Regions from separate parts of the Homo sapiens genome. Here regions 2 and 3 are each linked to region 1. Evidence: promoter capture Hi-C in 16 types of primary human blood cells and fetal thymus (Javierre and others, 2016). All regions are on one chromosome and are shown on one strand. Each heading gives the region's core, a stretch centred on a gene start or on the middle of the fragment in contact. The rest is flanking DNA. Distances are from core to core; before and after follow the strand shown.

What was found. The method cuts DNA at HindIII sites, captures the fragments that hold promoters and counts their contacts. A CHiCAGO score of 5 or more calls a contact.
Region 2: a contact is called between a fragment that was not itself captured here and the fragment with the promoter of USP28 in region 1, in 1 of 17 cell types (total B cells). The highest score is 5.2, in total B cells.
Region 3: a fragment that was not itself captured here is called in contact with the fragment with the promoter of USP28 in region 1 in 2 of 17 cell types (total B cells and neutrophils); the score reaches 9.9 in total B cells.

The regions. Positions count from the first base shown.
Region 1 is chr11:113,872,974-113,877,952 of GRCh38, forward strand. USP28 (ubiquitin specific peptidase 28) reads right to left here and starts at 2,599. Exons shown (of 26, transcript NM_001346252.4): 1 at 2,472-2,599. The coding sequence starts at 2,528. RefSeq lists enhancers at 487-987, 2,574-2,868, 2,858-3,107, 3,158-3,819 and silencers at 2,298-2,657, 2,678-2,837. The HindIII fragment of the contact is 13,869 bases long and covers 336-4,979 here.
Region 2 is chr11:114,174,188-114,179,166 of GRCh38, forward strand. All of the region lies in intron 3 of ZBTB16 (zinc finger and BTB domain containing 16), which reads left to right. Among named protein-coding and RNA genes, the nearest start is that of ZBTB16, 120 kb to the left of the region's middle. The HindIII fragment of the contact is 5,598 bases long and covers 182-4,979 here.
Region 3 is chr11:114,142,672-114,147,650 of GRCh38, forward strand. The region is part of intron 2 of ZBTB16 (zinc finger and BTB domain containing 16); the gene reads left to right. Among named protein-coding and RNA genes, the nearest start is that of ZBTB16, 85 kb to the left of the region's middle. The HindIII fragment of the contact is 756 bases long and covers 2,075-2,830 here.

The sequences.
Region 1 (4,979 bases), core at 1,349-3,848:
GGAGGCCATAAAGGGTTTTGTCTGTCCTGTGTACAACTGACCAATAAGGGAAGGGAAGCAGTCTAGGCTTTAAATAGCTTCTGAGTGTCAGGGAAGGATAGCTCTCCTCAACTAGAACAATGAAATATCCTTTAAGGGAAAGGTAGAATGCCTCAGAGAGTTCAAAATAAAAGAATCCATTCTAACATGAAACTTACCAAGATGAGGAAGAAGTTATTAAAATCTTTCCTGTAAGATCAAAAGGTACTTTTCCTGTAAGTTCCTTCAACCTATCCTGGTAACTTGAAGCATTTTATTAGCAAAAATAAAAGGGGCAAACATTATCAAGCATTCCAAGCTTATCAGCTTTCCGTATAGGGCAAATCACTGGGAAGAACAGTAAATGTCATCACTCTGCAGGTGGCCAGGAATCGGAGTACTCCAGCCAGCCACAGCCACTGGAGTTCCAAGCCTTCCCAAAATAGCTATGACTTACATACAAATGCTCATCAAGTAGCTCACACACAGTCTCAAACGGAGAATGCTGAAATAGGGTCACTACTCAAACTGCGGCAGAGGTAAATGAAGATGCCACTGATTAATAGGCACATGGTCTTAAATGACTGAGCCACGACAAATTTAAATATGACTTCTCTCTCCCTTAAAATAGTCTCTTCTCTAAATCAATATGATAGTCTCCAAACTAAAATTTTCCCATGTTTTTAAATCACTGTGCTAAAAACAAATAGAACTGACCTCTGAAGCCAGAGAAAAATCTTGACACATTTCAATAGGCACTTGTGAACATCTAACAATATTTCCATTAGAAGTCAGTGCATGATACTTTCGTTTCGGAGCCCAGGACCTGGAAGTATCTTTTTCTACATGAGTTTTAAAAAGCGCATCCAGGCTGGGCGCCCTGGTTCACGCCTGTAATCCCAGCACTTTGGGAGGCCGAGGCGGGCGGATCATGAGGTCAAGAGACCGAGACCATCCTGGCCAACACAGTGAAATCCCATCTCTACTAAAAATACAAAAATTAGCTGGGCGTGGTGGCACGCGCCTGTAGTCCCAGCTACTCGGGAGGCTGAGGCAGGAGAATCGCTTGAACCCGGGAGACGGAAGTTGCAGTGAGCCGAGATCGCGCCACTGCACCCCAGCCTGGGCGACAAAGTGAGACTCCGTCTGGAAAAAAAAAAAAAAAAAAAGTGCGTCCAGACTGGGCGCGGTGGCTCACGCCTGTAATCCCAGCACTCTGGAAGGCCGAGGCGGGCGAATCACCTTAAGTCGGGAGTTTGAGACCAGCCTGACCAATATGGTGAAACCCCGACTCTACTAAAAATACAAAAATTAGCCGGGCCGGTGGCAAGCACCTGTAATACCAGCTACTCAGGAGGGTGAGGCGGAGGATGCAGTGAGCCGACATCGCGCCACAGCACTCCAGCCTAGGCAACAGAGGGAGACTCTGTCGAAAAAAAAAAAAAAAAAAAAAAAAAAGTGTCTCCATGCTAAATACTACTGGCCTTCCAGACAAAAGAGTAAAAAGGTATAAAAGGATTCTCACCTGAGGGTATCTGTCTGCCAGCTTTGTACGACAAATATAGTTTCTCATCTCCAAACTCGTATTTGAACAACTGGCACAGATTTCCCGTTTTCTCTTGAAAAAGTGCAGTACTTGAGGGGTGAGGAGGTGGTGTTAAGTTATAACATTCCGAAGTAACACTAGAAGACATGCTCAAATTGCCCTCTTCCCAAGTTTCTTCATACAGACATTAGCTTTTCTCTCAAACCAGGGTTCTTTCACTCTCACCAGATTCTTAGATCAGAAGTCCTTATATTGATTTCAATCTTCTTAGACATTGGGAACAGGAGATCATCATCAGTAGACTTTCTATTCATCACGCAGCTCCTCCCCCTCCTTAAAAATCTAGAGCGATGAAGGCAATAATTGGGGAGGCTGCGCTGTTTTGTTTTTAAAGCCGGGTTGGGAGGGAGGGAAGTGGTGGTAACTGGGACCCCTGGTCTTATAGAAGACGGTGATTAATTCCGGACTTTAAGTGAGATAACTTCGGTCTGCTTTAACCTTTTAAAAACGCCGCCATAAAACTGATTTAAAAGTCAAAGCAAAACAAAACCAACCAACGCTGCCGCTTTCGGAAGTTTCTCACCCCGGACGGGGCCCAGGAGGGCTCACCTTACTGATCCCTGCGGCGGAGAACCCCACGTCCAGCCCTTTATATTTGGTTTTCCAAAATCTGGAAATCCCCCTACAACTTCAGCTCGCCCACGGACGCGAAGATGCAGTCCTCAATCTCCGCGGCCCGAGCCCCGCAGAGCCCTTGGCCTTCTCACCCACGCTGGCGGGCGCACCCCCTGTCCCGCCCGGCCGGGGCGCCCTCCGCAGCCCGCAACCCGCAGCCCTGCAGGCCCCGCACGCTCCCCTCAGGGCCTGGAGCCCGCCCCCAGCTCCCGCTCGCCGCCGCGGAGCCCACCGAGCCGTGGCCGTCTGCCGCGCCGGCCGCGTCGTCCTGCTGCAGCTCCGCAGTCATGGCCGAGGCGCCCAGCCGCGGGTCACCGGTCTCCCGCCGCAGCCGCCGCCGGCCCAGCCTCTCAGGACTAGGCCCCGCCCCCGCCCTCCACCCCGCTCCGTCCCGCCCCCGCCCGCAGCGCGCGCCGGAGGCTTGGCCCACATGCCCCGCCCCCGGCATGCGCGCGCACGCAAGGCGCGCGGCCCGGGGCCGAACAGTTCTGCGTGCTCCCGCGCACGCCCGGCTGACCAGACGTCGGTCACGTGATCCCGGCCCCGCCTGTCGCTGTTGGTCAGCTTCACAGCCGGTGGAGGCTGCGGGCCGCGCTGCCAGTGTCCGGGAACTGGGTTTGCGAATCCTGGGAGCCGCGTTCCTGAGTCTTCTCCGCTCTCTGCCCTCAAAACCTCATTTGTAGGACTGACCTCCGGCTCCACCCTCCCCACGGGCGAGTTAAAACTGTTCCCCCGCCGTGGGAAACTGCCGAATGACCGTGGAATAAAGGATTTCCCATCAGGCTTTGTAGCCATTTCCAACTCCAATGACATGAAGAAGTGTTCACCATCTTTAAGGAGAGAAGGAGGATGAATGCAGTCGCTTGTCTAAAGCTAACCAAACGGACCAAAGCCTCCGTTCATGGGTGTCCCGCTTGGTGCCCTTAACCCTGATGCTCTTAACCTGGGCATGATAAGGAAAATTGCAGTTTTTCCATTTTCGATTTTCAGAAGTTCAAACTAAAATTTTGTGTTACTTTGTTACGTTTGAGCCAGATATTTACGATTTCATGTTAAAAGACCAGGTGCTCCTATTGAATTGTTTTTTGTTTGGTTGGTTTCGGTTTGTTTTTTTTTTTTTCTTTTTTTTTGAGACGGAGTCTCACTCTGTCCCCTCAAGCTGGAGTGCAGCCGCACGGTCTCGGCTCACTGCAACTTCCGCCTCCTGGGTTCAAGCGATTCTCCTGAGTAGCTGGGATTACAGGCACGCTGTACCACACCCAGGGTTTCACCATGTTGCCCAGGCTGGCCTCGAATTCCTGACCTCAGGTGATCCGCCCGTCTCGGCCTTCCATAATGCTGGGATTATAGGCGTGAGCCACCGCGCCAGGCCTGAATTGTATTTTCAACAACTGTGTGGGAATTGTGATTACTGAACCATGTTTCACATTTAAGATACAAATGTGTTATGATGGCAAACCCACTTGACAGGCTGCTGGGTGTCCCAAATCTGCGTAGAGGCTGAGTGTGGAAGCGCGTCTTTTAAGAGTAGCACCTACACCCTTGCCCTGGTCTGGTCTGACTCTCAAGCTACACTTTTAAGTGTGAATTTAACATGGACGGTGGCCTTTCCTATACTCCTGGCATTGTTGTCGCTGGGATTGTTATGTTTCACCTGCAGGCCTCCCTAGTCTGCATGCGGGCGCAGTTTTTGACAAAAGGAAACAGGTACAGGTCAGGTGCAGCTCCCAGGAGAGGCCAGATTACTCTCTGAGGCCTGAACTAGGACTCCTGCAACTTCCACCACCTGGAGATACAGGGATCCGCTTCCCCTGGCAGATTAACTGGCAGATTGGCATGGCTGCGGTGATACTAACTTGGAATCTTCCACATTCAACAGGCTGACTGTGTTTGTGTCTGCGAGTAGTAGGACATTTTATGTATGTGGCTCTGCCATTTTTCCTTTCCTCATGAGTGACTGTGTTTATGGCCTCAACCTGGGTGTCACTGTAGAACAGGTTGATTTCAGGTTGATGCTGGTTTTCTTTTTTTTTTTTTTTTTTTTTGAGACAGGGTCTCACTCTGTCACCCAGACTGAAATACAGTAGTGAGATCATGGCTCACTGCAGCCTTGAATTCCTGGGCTCAAGCAGTCCAACTGCCTCAGCCTCTGAAGCAGCAGGGACTTCATGCATGTGCCATGCCCAACTAATTTTTGTGTCTTTTTTATGGAGATGGGATCTCACTGTGTTGCCCAGGATGGTCTCAAACTTCTGGTCTCAAGCAATCCTCCTGCCTTGGCCTCCCAAAATTTGGGGATTACAGACATGAGTCACCACGCCCAGCCCACATTGATTTCTGAGTCTAGCTTATTTACAGCATTGCCTATTTCTACACTGCTAGAATGCTTTATTTACCATGTCTCTGGAGCAACCCTTATTTGTCTTTACACATTCATTTTAGGAAATTGCATGTTTATTGTGTGTAAGTGCTGTCAAAACCTATAATCCTTTGTATTAGTCTGTTCTCACACTGCCATAAAGAATTACCTGAGCCTGGGTAAGTTATGAAGAAAAGAGGTTTGACTCAGGGGCATAACAGGAAGCAAGACTGGGAGGCCTCAGGAAACGTACAATCGTGGTGGAAGGCAAAGGGGAAGCAGGCATGTCTCACCATGGCAGAGTAGGAGAGATAGAACAAAAGAAGTGTCCCCCCCGACCCCCCGCACACACACACACACAAAGATCTCATAAGAACTCAC
Region 2 (4,979 bases), core at 1,731-4,230, 300 kb after region 1:
CCAGGCTCTGTCGGATAGACAGTGTTGTTTCGTGCCTGGACCAGGAGGTGAGAGTTTTTCTTAATAGGCAAAGGACTCAGAGAAGAGAGTTAGGTGGGCTTCCCATGCTGCCATTCTGACTGAGGTTTTTTTTTTTTTTCTTTTATGTTTACTAGCTATGAGACCTTGGGCAAGAGAACTAAGCTTTTTAAACTTCAGTTTGCATATCTAAGGCCAGGCATGGTGTCTCCTGCCTGTAATCCCAGTACTCTGGGAAGCCAAGGTGGGCGGATCACCTGAGATCAGAAGTTCGAGACCAGCCTGCCTAACATGGTGAAACTCCATCTCTGCTAAAAATACAACAATTAGCCGGGCGTGGTGGCATGAGCCTCCTAGCATCTCTCTCCAATGCCACTTGCAACTGTCTTTGTAGTGTGTATGTGTGTATTTTGTTTCTAAGATAAAACATCTCTAGGTAATATTTCAACAAATGAAAGAAATAAAGCCTTTTAGAAGGCTCCTGATGCTGTCACAAATGTGATAATCATTGCACTCTTCAAGAAACCAATTGGCAGAGCTCTGTATGCAAGTTATCTGCTGACAATTGGCTGTAAGCTGTACAAGCCCTGTAGATGAGAGCTTCTCTTTTCCTGGAAACTCCACCAGGAAGCCGTGCCATAGACCCCAAAGACATCCAGGTCAAGCTGCAGGGAAGAGGCAGGGTTCAGTAGGCATAGAAGGCTGTCTAAGCTGGGCCCGTGCTCCCATCACAGGCAGTTTAGTGGAGAACCTGGGCTGGATGTTGACAGAACTGAGATGTTAGCTCAGCTACCCACTAGCTAAATCAGGAGCGTTAGCAGCTTAACTCTCTGAGCCTTGGTTTCTTCACCTGTTAAAGAGATGATGATACATCCTTCCTATCCTAAAAGCAGGACTTCAAAGTTGCACAACAGCAGTGACACCACTCACTCAGAAATGGGACTGTAAGGTTGTTGAAGGTTTAAACAAGATGATGCACATGAAGGTGCCCAGCACAGAAAGTGGAGCTCAACAGGCACACAACACCAATACTTTCACTCCTTCCCTTCCAAGGAACCTACAAAGGCTGCCCTGCAATAAGGAGTCACAATGCTGCTGCTGCCATAGTGTTGACAGTCATCACAATAAAAATACTAATAACATGTGTTGCCCATTCATTATGATGCAAGCATTGTGCTAACTACTTTACATGCAATATACCAGTTAATTCTCCCAACAACTCTAAGATTACCCCCCATTTTATACATGTGCAAACTTTTTTTTTTTTTGGAGACAGAGTCTCTTTCTGTTGCCCAGGCTGGAGTGCAGTGGCGTGATTTCAGCTCAACGCAACCTCCTCTCCCGGGTTCAAATGATTCTCCTGCCTCAGCCTCCCGAGTAGCTGGGAGAGGACAGGGGATTCTGAGACCCAAGCAATGAAGGAATTATCAATATTGAGATGCCAAAGAGATCTCAGCATTGTGAGAGGACTCGGCATTCTCTTCAGTCAGTGGGAAATGAGAGAGGCAGGGACCAGCCTGGAGAAAGTGAGGGAAGCCAAGAATGCCATCGAGACTGAGGAATGCTGCCTCCTATTCCCTTTAAAATACCTCCAATGAGGTATGTCATTTGGCAGGAGTGTCAGGAGATGCTGGGGGACCGGGGCAGGGCCAGGTTATCAGCTTGAAATGGGTGGAGTAGGCACTTGGATCCCGGCCACCACCCTTGGAGGGGTCTTAGTCTTCTTTTTTCCATTGCCCAGCCAGTATTGTGAATCCTACTCAGGGGAGAGGGGTGTGTGTGTGTGTGTGTGTGTGCGTGCGTGTGTGTGTGTGTGTGTATGTGTGAAATCCTCCATGCCATATTTAGGGTGGGGGCCTGTGACGGAGCATTCTGAAGTTGCTTCAGAAGAAAGGAGCAGAATAGATGAGGATGAGAGGAGACCGAAGGCTCAGATCACAGGCTGAGCTTTGGGACTGCTGGGGGCCAACAGAAACTTCTCTTTTCATTCTGAACTTCTCTCCTGAGAATCCCCAAGGGGAGACCTGGGAGGAGGGTGATTGTTGGTGTTTAGGAGTTGCGGAGATGTCCCATAAAATCATGGCAGAAACCCTTACTCTTATATCCCTGGCTTTATTATCCAGCCTCTCACAAATGCCAAGGTTGCAAAGCTATCTATCTCTCTTAAACAAAACAAAGTTATGAACACTTGAAAGCCCAGGTATTCCCTGGAACTCGGGTCAGTCTTTGGCACAGCCGCACTGACCCAGCCTGACTCTGGCTAATGATTCTCCCAATGTCTGGACTCTCTGTTCCATTCTACCTGCCTGATAGAGCAGAATATTCACCTTGAGAAGGATTCTGCTGGCTGAACCGGGGAACCCAGCCCTCGCTTGGTCTCAACAGCACCTTCCAAACACCAAGGGTTGTATGCATTTGAGCTCTCGTGTACGGCCACGTTTAACTTTCTTTGCCATGAGCGCCCAGCTTCTCATGAACACCTGTTCATCCTTTCTCCCTTAGAGATGTCCCAGTTTAAAACTTGTCATTTCAAGATGGAGAGATAAAGGGATTCACCAAGGGTTACACAGCTCAGGCAGTGACAGTCAGGACCGCAAGTCAGTTTCTTTTGGTACTTTGGAAAATCTTGGGTGCGCTGGCCAGCAGAACCCTCCTTGAGCCAGTTATCTACCCTGTCTTACCTAAGGGTGGTCCTGTCTCCCATTCCAGATAGCATAATATCATGTATACGAGAGCCTTAGAGAACATAGTGTCTCATTTATGCAGGCCATTTACTTATTGCGATTGGGCTTCTCCCAGAGCTGTGGGACTGGAAATACTATGGGCTGCATACCCTGTAGGCTGTGGCCAGGAGCTGTCCTCCTGGAGCTCATCAGCTTGATGAAGTGAAATTATTCTATAATCATGATAATGACTGTGACTTGAGCACCTGCTATGTGCCAGGTACTTCATATAGTTTCTTGTTTAAGCTATCATATGAGGATGAATAGCTACATTTTCAGGAGGGAAGTGAGGCTGCGAAGTTGATGCTGGTACCGTACCGGTAGAACCTTAAAGCCGTCTCTGGATTTGAGCTGTTGCTGTTGCCAGGCTGGAGTGCAGTGGTGCGATCTCGGCTCACCACAACCTCTGCCTCCGGGGTTCTAGCGATTCTCCTGCCCCAGGCTCCCGAGTAGCTGGGATTACAGGCATGTGCCACCATGCCCGGCTAATTTTGTATTTTTAGTAGAGATGGGGCTTCTTCATGTTGGTCAGGCTGGTCTCCAACTCCAGACCTCAGGTGATCCGCCCGCCTCGGCCTGCCAAAGTGCTGGGTAATTACAGGCATGAGCCACCGCACCCGGCCCGGGACTTCATTTTGAGGGGGCCTGACCGTTAACCTCCGAGAGATCTCTCAGTTGGCAAAGCATGTCTGGAAGGAAGTCTGGTTCATCACAGCAGGGACTGACATTCCTGTAGTAAGAGAGATTTTGTGCCCTTGTGCTGACTACCACAATACCATGATTGCTCAGTCATAGAAGTTGCCAGGAGAAGAAAGAGATTAGAAGCAATGGTAAGGTGAACCCCTGAGTCACTACTCTTAGACTTCAGGAATATTTGTAATTTTTTTTGGAGACAGAGTATCACTCCGTCACCCAGGCTGGGGTTACAGGCACAAGCTATTGCACCTGGCCTGTATTTTTAAAAAATCTGCAACAAATTTACTATCCTACTTGCATTTTATTTAAAATAATTCACTCATGTATTTTTAAAAACATAAATCATCTCAAACTGGTTTGCATTCCCTGGTTCCCTTCTGGGTAGGCAGTAGGAGGGTAATAATACCATTAAACATTGGCCATGAGTGATGATGGGAGCAGACGGTAGGGGTGTCATTTCCTTGATCTCCTCCTGGGGAAGAATGATCTGACCCCATCTTTACTGGTGTGTTTTGGCTGGAGAGGTAAGAATATTTTAAATTGCGTGATATATCTCTTGCATGCATTTGATGTTTGTGTGTGTCTTATACCTTGCTATTATTTTATCTCCTGATGACAATGATGATGTTGGTCTTAATGACAACTAGCATTTATTGGGCTATTATTGTATGCCAGACAGGGTATTAAACACTTTACATATATTATTTAAATTAATCATCCCTCAACCAACCCTGTGGCATAAACACTCTGAGCCCAGTTTTCTAGGTAAGAAACAGGCCCAGAAGAGATAATTCACTTCTTCAGGGTGGTAGCTAGACATGGTAGAACTGGGACTTGAACCAGAGTTTGTTTGATTCCAGAGAGCGTGCTCTTCACTACCTTACTGTGCAGCTTAATATTGAGTGCATGTGTGTGTTCTGGCTGTGGACAGTGTTTCTAAGCCTGTTGGATTACCCGCTGGTGCTAAAAGGGGTAACAAAAGAGCTTTCCAAGCCACTCTGGCTGAGAATTGAGTTGCAGGGATAAGGGACAAGGTAGACCTGTGTGCTCCCTGTGGGACTTGAGAGAGGGACTGCAGGATCCCAGTAAGAGACAAGGGCACCATGCAGCTTCCTAGTAGCATCACATTTATTAGGTAGGATAAGAAATGTTCCCTCAGCCATAGAGATGTCTCAGCATTTCCTCCTGACCCAGTCCAGGGTTTCCTCTTCTGCAGAGTGGATATTTAGCCACACATGAGGTGTCAGTCATTTGCCAGGTCACTGGTGGGACACTGGCTTTTGGAGATCTAAAAACCACCTGTCCTCCATCCCAGGTGACTCCCGTTGTTCTGTTGCTCAGCCCAGGAGAATTCCCTGGTGTCTTTCTCCATCCTATATTTATGTGGGGTCCTGTATCATTAGTTCATTCACCCTCCCATCTTGTAGTGAGTGAGGCCGAACTCTGAGGATCTTTCCCCACAGCCTTGTCAACCACAGCTACCCTTGAACCATATCCTGGACCTATCAATGGGGCTGGTTGTTTTCCTTTCAGCCAGGATTT
Region 3 (4,979 bases), core at 1,203-3,702, 270 kb after region 1:
AAGTAATCAAATGTCCAAAATCCATGCATCTTGTTTTGAATGGTGGGAAGGGAGGATGTAGGGAGGATGGAGGAGCATGGGGCCTTGGGGAGGGGGAGCTGGGGGGATTGTGGAGGAGAAAGCTTTTCATGAAGTTATGGCCCGTTTAAAAAAGATTCCACTCTGCCTCCTCCCCCATCCCCATCGGGAGGTGGGCTTTCCTTTCTCATTTACAAAAACGGGGAGGAAAAATGAAAGCTCATTAAATAAAAATAGTAAAGGACATTTTTATGTGTGGGCTTAAAACCAGCAATGTCAGGGAGGAGTTAGTGAGTGGGGCTGTGAGGGAGGCAGAACAGGATTTTGTTTATGGGGAAATAAAGCCCCTGGCCAGCGTTGGTTTCTCTGCTGCCTTGGTGAGCGTGGGCTTGCTCCCACCTACTCTCCCAGGTTCCGAGGCTCCTGTGCACACGGTGAATGTGTGCTGGCTGATGAGGGTGAGGAGCGGTGGGTACCCGGCTCTAAGCAATATGTTCTACTCCATCCAAATCCCGATTGATTTATTACCCACTGTACAGCCAAGATGCATCCACCCCTCATCCATCCACTAATGCTGTGCCCTTTGCAAGGCTTGAGAATACAAGATGAATGAGGCAAAGCCCTGTCTTCATGTAGCTGCCCATCCAGCTGGAGAGACAGAGAAACAAGCAGATGCACCCTAGTGAGTACATCTGCTCCAACAGAAACACACTTAAAAGACAGAGGCTGGGGGGGAAAGGGGGTCAGCTTTGAGAGGGGACAGAGGGGAGCTACTGGGGAAGGCTTCTAGGGATGGTACTGACCCTCTTGCCTAGTGAAATGTCCTTTTGGAAGTATCAGGTTCCTGCAGGGAGATTACACAAAAATGTAGAAAAAATACGCTAGTGACAGGTCCTCCCTCCATCCCAGATGTGTGATGTTGTGGTCAGGTGATCACTGATGTGTGTCAGTGTATTGTAAGAGTGGGGCCAACGTCCTTGTGCATTGAGGCTCCAGCCTCTCTTCTCCTCCATGCCATGGACCGTCGCTGCATCATCTAAGCACAGGGCACCCAGGCGGGTAGCACAGGTGGCTTAGCAAATGCAGTCAGAGTCAAGGTTAAGAATCGATCTCTTCATTCTGTTTCAAGATTACATAGCATGCAGTATGTTGTTGGGTATTGTGTTGCACCGTGAGACTGAAAGTGTGGATGTTTCCAGAGAGCCGCTGCTTGGCCTCTGTGCTCGTTGGGCCTCGAGTCACTGGTATTATGCATTTCCTGTGTGCTCGGGAGCCTTGCGTGTAAGGAGCAAGAGGAGCACGCAAGCTGCCTGGTGCTTTTCCCCATGAAAATGAGGCCCAGCAGGGAAGAGGATTCGTATTTGTTGCTTTTATTTTATTTTTCCTTTTATCTCCATGCCCACACGCTTGGACCGTCTCAGCATTGATAAATGTGTGCTCTCACAAACATGCACACAATCCCCTTTCTCTGGCCTGTGTGTTTGCCAGACACACACACACACACACACACACACACACACACACTCCCACGCACACTGGGCATGGACACCAATTGTAAACCTCGTCCGTGTGGCTCACCCTCCTTTTGCCACCAACCCCTGTCCTTTTCACACAAAGCTCCCTGTTGGGAAAACTCATAATTTTCACACCACACAGCCTTGACTGGCCATTGCTGGAATTACTGTCTCTTTGAAGTGCTTTCTACTGGGGCATTTACAGGCCGTTTTAATTACCTGCAGCTTGCAAAGGGCCTTGCTCTGTCCCAGCCTTTGTTTGTTTGTTCTTTGCAAGGAGTCTGTGTAGAAAGGAATACGGCTGACTTCTTTTACAAAAAAGAAAAGGGGGTAGAAAAAGAAGTTTGGGGAGCCCTTAACAGAGCTTCTTGCCGCAGCCTGCTGTGGGACACCATGCCCACTCTAACAAGGCCAGGAAGAGAGGCTCTCGCCCTTGGCTGTCTTCTCAGCAGGTTCCAGCACCGTGGGTCCCACTCCTGGAGCTTGCCTGGGATATTTTTGTTCATGCGTTTATGTTTTAATTATTATTAAGTATATTTTCAAGCTTTCTACCAGAGACAGCAAGGGCTGTCAAATCATGTTTCCCTCACTGTTGACCAAATCAAAGCTGGCTTCAGTTGAGCTGGGATCCCTCTTATATTTTCAACTAAATCTGTTCAAGGAAGGTGCATTATTAAATTATTGAGTTTAGACGTGGGCTGGAGGGTAGGGGTTGAAATCACATATGTGAAAGGAGTGCCCACTTTGAGCTGTCTGGTGTTTTTCTTTCCTTTTCTTCATTTTTCACTTGATTCTCTAAAAGGAACTACATATAAATAGCATTCTTTGGGGTTTCTGTTAAATATGAGTGTAGCATGTCATGTCTGCAGATGAAGATGCTAGTTTACCAAAGAAGCCTCAGAACTGTATCCCCTTTTTGGGGGGCTTTTACAGCAGAGGAAATCTTTATTCATTTATTCACTTAGTCCAAAAATGTATTGAGAAATTGGAAACCTCATACATTGCTGATGGGAATGTAAAATGGTATAGCTGCTTTGGAAAACAGTCTGGCAGTTCCTTAAAAGGTTAAACATAGAGTTACCATATGAGCTGGCAATTCCACTCCTAGGTATATACCCAAGAGAAGTGAAAACATATGTCCACACATAAAACTTGTACACAAATGTTCATAGCAGCATTATTCGTAATAGCCAAAAGGTCAAAACAACCAAATGTCCATCAGCTGATGAATGGATAAACAAAGTATGGTATATCCCTACAGAGGAACAAAGTACTGATACAAGCTATGATAGGAATGAAGCTTGAAAACATGCTGTGTGAGAGAAGCCAGACCCCAAAGGGTGCATATTGTATGATACCATTTATATGAAATGTTCAAAATAGGCAAATCTGTAGAGGAAGATAGTACATATGTGGTTGCCAAAGGCTGGGGGTTGAGGGGAGGAATGGAGAGTGACTGCTAATGAGTACGAGGTTTCTTTTCAGGGTGATGAAAATATTCTGGAATTTGATAGTGATGATGGTTGCACAGTTCTATGAATATGCTACAAACCAGTGAATGGTATACTTGACAAGGATAAATTTTGTGGTACGTGGAAAATACCTCAGTAAAGCTATTTAGAAAAGTGTACTGAATACTTACTCTATACAGCACACCCTGGCATACTCTGAGGTTATAGTGGATGGTTTCTGCCTTAATGTAACTTATAGTCTAGTAGAGATAAAGAATACTAATAAAAAGCTAATATATAACTGAAAATTGTGTTAAATGTTATAAAGGAAATCAACAAAATGCAATGATGGAAAATTGCGTTGATGGACAACCTACCTAGAAGGGCTGTGGGTCAGGAGCAGCCTGACTTTACTGGAGTCCAGCATACGGTAGGCGCTTAACAGATATAGGGTGAGTAGCAGTGGGGCATGAGTCGGCTTGCCTTCCCTGTAGAAGGTTATGAAGTCCCTGCGAGACCCACAGCCTGTCAGTAGACTCTGGGTACCATCATTCAATTTACTTTTTTTCTTAGAGGCCTCTCTGTTCTTGCTTCTATTCAATTAGATGGAGAAAATCCCAGGAATGCTCTCGGTGACTCCTTTTTAGCTGCTGGTTTTCCTGCCCCTTTCAGGGAAAGACTCTGGCTTAGGTAGGAATATGAAGGCAGACCCTGAGGTGAGAAGTCTGGCGAAGTCTGCCTGTTTATAGGGGCAAGTAAGTCATGTGGCCTCACTTTCTCCATCCACAAAATGGGCTCTATACTGTCCATGTCAGCCACAGGGTGGTTGAGATGATCCTCAGGAAGCCCTTTCAAAGTCAGACATGATCTATAAATGCATTACCTTCTTTATCATTAAAACCTCAGTTGGGGCTAGGCACGGTGGCTCATACTTGTAATTCCAGCACTTTGGGAGGCCGAGGCGGGTGGATCGCTTGAGGTCAGGAGTTGGAGACAGCCTGGCCAATGCGGTGAAACCCCCGCTCTACTAAAAATTAAAAAAAAATCAGCTGGGCATGGTGGCTCATGCCTGTAGTCTCAGCTACTCTGGAGGCTGAGGCACGAGAATCGCCTGAACCTGGGAGGCAGAGGTTGCAGTGAGTCGAGATCACGCCACTGCACTCCAGCCTGGGCGATAGAGTGAGATTCTGTCTCAAAAAAAAAAAAAAAAAACCAAAACCTGGGTTGACTAGATGTTCTTTTTTGCATTTTTCTAGAAGAAAGGAAGAAAGAACCAGTAAGGAAGCTAATATCTGTTTGGCTTTTGCTTTTTTTCTTCATTAAAATGACAATAATGTTTACAATGTGATTTGGTACCCGTACAGGTAATCCGTTCAGTCTCTTATCTTGTGTTCATAATTGATGTTTAGAGTGATAGCTCTCCAGCTCAGAATCCTCATAGAAAAGTAATTTAATTTTCAGTGTACCAAAGCAGAAAGAATGAGGCAATATACATTAAAAAGGTTTTCAGAATGGTTTAATTCCAGAGGAACTTTCTTCTTAGGCCTTTAATAAACCTCAGTTATTCTCAACAATCTCTGAGTTTCCATGGCTGGTCCATGGGATCTGAAGGTAGCATTGTGTCTCCCTGGCTAGAGTGGAAACATATAAAAATGATCCTGGATAACCAGGAGACAACATTTCCTTCGCATGTATCCAGGCAGAACAAGGAGATAAAGGAAAAGTCTGTAGCTTTTTGAAAACTGTTTTCCCAGAAATCGGTTATTTGTGCTGGTTAAAAGCCTTGTACGGGAGAGGGAGAACAAAAACCCTGTTCATCCATAACCATAGTTTAATTCCCTTATAGGGCCTTTTAGGATCTGGAGAGAATATTTTGGATTTATTTTTGTTTCCCTTGGGCTGACATCATCAAGCATGCATCATGGTGCCCTGTTTTGGGTTTGGAAAAAGCTCAGAGAAGCTATAAATCTTAAAGCATTTTACTATTTTTTCCTTT